Regions from separate parts of the Homo sapiens genome. Here region 2 is linked to region 1. Evidence: promoter capture Hi-C in human tissues and cell types (Jung and others, 2019). All regions are on one chromosome and are shown on one strand. Each heading gives the region's core, a stretch centred on a gene start or on the middle of the fragment in contact. The rest is flanking DNA. Distances are from core to core; before and after follow the strand shown.

Region 1 (3,155 bases), core at 178-2,677:
ACGGAGTAGGGATTGCTGCCCGCCACTCCCTGTGTGGGCATCCTACTCCCTATCTCTCCAGAGCACGGGGATCTGCCTCTCTTCCAAATCTGGGGGGCGAGGGAGGAGCGGAGGGTCGGCATCCAGCCAATCACATGGCAATATGCAAATAGACACGACCCTGCCTTCTTAGGATTGGCTAACCCGTCAGCGTTATTGTCCAAGTCTCTCCTCTCTAAACACTGAGCTATTCCGGGCGAGGGTTTGCGGCTCTGGAGACCTAGGGGGAAAAAAGTCCTTTGGATCTGGATCTCTGAGCCGTCCCGGTCGGGCACCCTCCTTCCCCGCCCCGGCCCCACCCCCACCCCCAAGGCTCGAAGCTCCCGCAACCTTCGCTGCCTAGGTGTCCCTTCTAGCTAGGGCCAAGCCTGGGAAGACGCCCCCTTCCCTTGGCTGGCCAGGCCCCTCTCCCTTCCCGCAGGACCCCTCCCGGTCCCGTATCTCCCGGGCTGCACATATTTTTTCATTCATGACCCCCAGGTCTGGAAGGGCCGGGCGCCTGGGTCCGGTTCCTTCCGCTCCTCCTTTTCCTTGCTTGGGGAGGACGAGGTAGAGAAAACCAGGGTCCTGACTCACTTTCCCCTTTATATTCCCTCTGTCGTCACTAAGGCCCACTCCTCAGGAGCCCAGAGAGAAGCCGGTGGGTTGGTAGGCAAAGCAGGGCGGGGAAGGGGCAGCTGTGTGGCCCTCTCTGCCTTGTGGCTTCCCACCTTGTTCCTGTCTTCTCCAAATCCAGCCCCATACCCTGAATCCAGGGCCCTCCTCACACATTCTTTTCCTCGGATATGTGTCTTCCCGAAAGATCTTTCCTACCCACTCGCCTGTTCCTTGGTGAGCTGGGTGAGCGCATAACTTGGCGGGGGGTGGGAGAGAACCCGGGAGGAGGAAACACAATAGAATGTTCCCGAGGGTTAGGAACGTCGAAGTGGAGTTCAGAAACGCCCCCGGCCGAGGCCAGAAAGCTGGGCTCGGAGAGCAGGTAGAGCCGGGAGGCTGCGGAACACCCCAGTCTGTCCTGGGTCCCGGGGTCCCCACCCTCCAGGGTCCAGAGCCGCGCCAGGACAGCCGGACTCACCACCACAGTCCGCCGACGTGCGCCGGGCACAGGAGCAGCAGCAGCAGCAGCCCGAGGCGGGAGGGTAAGGGCGGCAGCATCGTGACCGCCCTACGGCCGCCCGGGTGGGCAGGGGGCGAGGCTGCGGGGCGAACCGCGGCGCGCGAGGGCCCGGGCTTCAGTGCGAGCGCGGCGAGCGCAACGGCGGCGGCCGGGAGGCGAGGGATCCGGCGGCGGCGGGGGGGCCCATCCCGGGCGAGGAGGGCGCGGCGGAGGCGGAGAGCGGACGGGGCAGCCAGCGCCTGTGTCTCCTGCGGAGCTCGCTCGGGAGAAGAAATCAGAGCCGGGGGCGGAGGTGGGAGGGGAGCGGGGCCGAGGCGGGGGCGGGGGGCAGGGGGCCGGAGGGAGGTGGCAGTTGCGACAGTCAGGCAGCGGGACTCTCGGGAGCGAGCCGTGCGCCCCGGGGCGGCTGGCGCGGAGCGCAGCGGAGGGCGGGAGCGGGGTGCCGGGGCGGGGCCCCAGCGCGCTTCGGGCTGTGGGACCCGCCCGCTTCGCCCCCTCGCCTCGCCTCTCTCGGACTTGGAGCCCCCCGCCGCTCGCGGCCGCCTGGAGTCGGGGGCAAGGAAGGGCTGGGAAGAAGAGTAGAGAGGGGTGAGGGGGGAGAAAGAGGAGCTGAGGAATGGGGGACGGGCTGGAAGGGAGACGTTTGACAGGTTTGTTGACTGTAAAGAGAGAAAACTTCCCAGGAATGAGGGAGTTTGGGGCGGGGGGCGGTGCGGAGGGAGATGCTGGCGCGGAGGCAAGAGAGGAAGTTGGCCTGGGGCGCGGGGTGCTTCGGCGAGGGTTGTCAAACTGGACCGCCCGACAGGCGGATGCTGGAGGGGTCATCTCTTTCCGTGTCCCTGTTCGATGCCTCATGCCCCTTCGTCAGCCTCTCCTTGAAGAAGGGAGGAAGCCCTGGGCCTCCGCTCTCGCTCCCCCAGCCATCCCACCTCTCAAGCCCGCGTTCTAGGGCGGGGAGGTGGGGGAAATGAGAGGGCAAGAGTAGCCGCTCCAGGGCGTGCGCGCAAGCGCTGGCACTTGTAAGCGAGCGGGAGAATGGAGGTCGCAGACTTTCAAGAGATCGAGGGGTCAGAATTCGCTTTAGCCCGGCCTCGCGTGTCCAAGAGTCCCTGCCTCGAGTTCCTCCCCCAACCTGGCCCGGGTAGAAGGGGTGGGAGAGCCAGCTGCAGGTGAGATGGCGTTTATCAGATTTTCTAATGCCACAAAAATGTCTTTGATGCCCCTGGCCCCCTCCCCACGAGGGGGAGATCAAAGGCTCCGTGGGGAAGAGGGACAGCTCCATTCATCATGCCATTCGGCTGGCAGTGGGCAGCAGCCCCTGCCCCTCCCGTCCCCGACGTGCCCCGGGGTGCCAAGGGACAGGTGGTGTGGGACATTCTCCCTGCCATACCATCAAGAGCAACCATCAACCTTTAAAGCTGTCCTGGAGTGGGGAGGACAGATCGAGTCCCTATGGCAGAAACGTCAGGCGCCCAGAAGAAAGCTCCTGGTTGTTGGTAGAGAGGGGGACCTGAATGTGGGGACTGAGGTCGCTTCCAAGAGAGTGATGACTGAGGTCACTTCCAAACAACCTTGGTGAGCAGAGAGAGAAGACAAGATCCTGAGTCACCCAGAGAGGGGGGACAAGTAGATCAAGATGAGGCCAAGGGGCCAAGGGATGTGACCCCAGGGGAGGAGGCTGATGGGGGAAGGAATGAGCAGACAGAGGTGAGAGAACTGGAGAAGTGTGGACTTGCCGGCAAGCAAGCTCCATGTCAGGGCCCTGGTGTCCAGGCTGCATCAGCTCAATCCCTTGCACTGGATACAGAGAGTTCTGGTGAAAGGGCTAGGACACACTAAAGAAGGGGAAGGGGGCAGGGGGCAGTGGCAAGAGTCATAGAGAGAGGGTCTGGTCTAAGCACTGCCCTCTCCCATTTTAGCCTTTAACAGTATCCAAAGGCCACGCACAGCCCCTGCACCTAGTAACTTTGCACACAGTTGCTGTTTCTACGGGGCAATG
Region 2 (3,155 bases), core at 329-2,828, 670 kb after region 1:
CACATGGGTGATATCGTTTAATTGCTCAGTGCAAACTCCGCTCACACTCCGGCAATGGCTAAACTCTCATCTAGGAGCACTTTAAGGGGAGAATGAATGTATGTGAAAGGGTTTGCAAACTTTAAAGGGTGGTGTTAAGTTCTAGACGTGGGCTGCCGAACCCAATTTACAGTTGTACTTCCATAGGGTAGAGGAATTTTCACGTGGGTTACTTCCTTGTGCTCCTCCAGTTATTTGGTTTGATTTGAAGATAATGCTGCCCTCTCCTGGACTGGTCTTGCAACTCCAGGCCCTGGCCTCCAAGAGTAGATTCTGCACCTGCCCCCGCCTCCCCCCACCAAGCAACCTTGCGTGATCTCAGGTGTTATCAGAACAGTTAGTGGTCTCCTGCTCTGCTAAGTCATTTCTTACAGCCGTGGTGGGCTTAACTTTCCCTCCAGTGTTATTTCCCAGAGACTGGAGGCAAGAGAAACATAGGGCAAGTCACTGGTGGGTCCTCAATTTCTAGAAATAGAATCCTTCTTTTCTTCTTTTGCTTTGCTTTCAACAACTGTTTATTGTACCCTCTACTTGCCAAGGAGATGTGTAATGTCTCCTAGGCACATGGGATACAGTGGTCAAAATGGATACGGATCCCTGCCTTCGTGAAGCTTATATGCACCAGAGGAGGCAGACAATAAACAATAGCCTCTATAATAAACAAGCAAATGGTATAGGATGTTAGGAAGGGATGACTGCAGCAAGGAAAGAAGCATGTGTTAAATTGATGAGGGCAAGGGATATCAGGAAGTCTTGGGGAGGTGCAGATGCAGATGGGGGACAGTGTGGGCCTCAGCAAGAAGGTGGGTTGGAGAAAACACTTAGAAGAGGTGAGGGAATTACCTGCAGGAGCAGCTAAGGAAGAGCTTTCTGAGGGGGTGAATGGCCAGAGTCAATGCCCTAAGGCAAGAGCTGTACAAGGCCAGTATGTCTGGAGCTGAGCTACAAGGGGTGAAGTGGAAGTGGTTAGAGGGTGTTATGGGTTGAATAGTGTCCTCTCCCCGCAAATTCATATTTTGAAGTTCTAAACTCCAGTACATCAGAAGGTGGCCTTATCTGGAATTGGGGTCATTGCAGATGTTATTAGTTAAGATAATGTCATTAGAGGGGGGACACTAATCCAATATGACTGCTGTCCATATAAAAAGGGACACAGAGAAATGCACAGAGGAAGAATGCACCGTGAAGTGGAAGGCAGAGATTGGGGTGATGCCTCTACTGGTCAAGGAACACCAAAGATTGCCAGCAAGCACCAAAGCTGGGAAGAGGCACAGAACAGACTAGATTCTCCCTTATAGCCTTTGGAAGGAACTAACCCTGCTACATTTTGGTCTCGAACTTCTGGTCTCCAAAACTATGAGATAAGAAATTTCCGTTTGTTCAAGCTGCACAGTTTGTGGTACTGTGTTATGGCAGCCCTAGCAAACAAATCCAGAGGGGTAATGAGGTGGGATGGGGGGAGAGGGTGAGGGCAGGGAGATAGAGTAAAGCCTTGAAGGCCTTTAAGGACTTTAGGTTTTATCAGATTCACTTTTTCTCATGATAAAGTGGGATTTATTCCAAAAATTCAAGCATTATTCAACACCGGAAAACCATCAATATCATTCCCATACTAGATACTTTTGTAGCTCATAAGCATGATGATTCAGTGTCCAAGTGCATGCATGAGATGTGCCTCCCTCAAACCTTGTCACAACATCAGCACGTTGCTCATCTGACATGAACAAAATATACATAATTCACATATGAATGTATCTCAGAATAAAAAAAGTCATATAACTATCTTCATAAGCCTTTGACAAAATTCAAAGCCATTTTTTTTTAATAGATGAGGGGCTCTCCATGTTGTCCGGGCTGGTGTTGAACTCCTGGGCTCAAGGGATCCTGCCACCTCGGCCTCCCAAAGCACTAGGATTACAGGCATGAACCACCAAGCCTGGCTCAAAACCTATTCTTGATTTAAAGAATAAACTTAATAAAATAAAATACAGATGGTTTCCAACTTATGATGATTTGACTTAAAAATTTCCACTCTATGTTGGATTTATCAGGACATAATACCATGGCAAGTCAAGGAGCATTTGTAGGTGCTTTAAAAGCAAGTATTAACTAAACTCCAGATTTTATTTGGATTTGGCCTGTTTTTCCATTATCCCCTCTTTCTATTCCAGGATCCAATCCAAGACACTACATTTCATTTAGTTGTTAGCTCTCCCCAATCTCCTGTGGTCTGTGACAGTTTTGCTCAGTTTTTTTCTTGTTTTTTATGACTTTGACAGTCTTCAGAAATACTGGCCGGGTGTCCTGTAGAATGTCCCTCAATCTGCCTGATGTTTTTCTCATGATGCCTCTGAGGTTATGGGTTTTGGAGGGCATACCCCAGAGATAAGGTGCCTTCTCATCACATTGTATCAGTTGTACCTGAGGTCTATATATCCTCCCTGGTGATATGAGCCTTCCTCACTTGGGTAAGGTAGTGTTTGCCAGGTTTTTCTGCCATAAACTTAATTAAAATGCACTTAAAATGTTTAAAGCAATAGAATTTGTACTTTGGAGACATTGTGATAGGGACAGGAGGCAGGGAAATTCTGGGCAGAAGAGGGTGGGTCCTTGGCGAGGGCCCCACCCTCAAGCCGAAAAGCCTGGTACCACGGCCTAAAGTGAGAACATACATCTCTGTTTTCCTGCATGAATGTTGCCTTTTCCCAAATCACCCATGGCCTGCCCCACCCCCCATCCTGTGCCCATGGAAACTCCAGGCTCAGCTGGCAGAGAGAGGAGAAGCAGCTGGATGTCAGAGACTATGGCTGGACGTCAGAGAGAAGTGTCTTGACTTCAGAGGGAGAGTTTGATGGTATAGCTTTGGGGGAGGATTGCCTTCCCACCCCATCCCCTTTTCAACTCCCCATCCTGCTGAGAGCCACCTTCATTTGTAGTAAAATCTCCCTCATTTACCATCTTTCAAATTGGTTCGTGTGACCTCTTTTCTCTTGGACACCAGACAAGAACTGGGGTGCCACAAGTGTGGGTGCCGAAGTCTGTCACACTAACCCTCCACTAAGCTGTTAACACTTAAGCCATCCATGGACAGCAGAGCTAAAAGAGTACTGTAACAC

What was found. Contacts are between HindIII fragments. The study calls those that stand out against the background at their distance.
Region 2: a contact is called between a fragment that was not itself captured here and the fragment with the promoter of WNT6 in region 1, in 2 of the 25 tissues and cell types used here (liver and lymphoblastoid cells).

What each region holds. Positions count from the first base shown.
Region 1 is chr2:218,858,077-218,861,231 of GRCh38, reverse strand. WNT6 (Wnt family member 6) reads right to left here and starts at 1,427. Exons shown (of 4, transcript NM_006522.4): 1 at 1,115-1,427. The coding sequence starts at 1,194. The HindIII fragment of the contact is 31,874 bases long and covers 1-3,155 here.
Region 2 is chr2:218,183,583-218,186,737 of GRCh38, reverse strand. LOC124906159 (small nucleolar RNA U13) reads left to right here and starts at 1,656; the gene lies at 1,656-1,759. The HindIII fragment of the contact is 7,861 bases long and covers 1-3,155 here.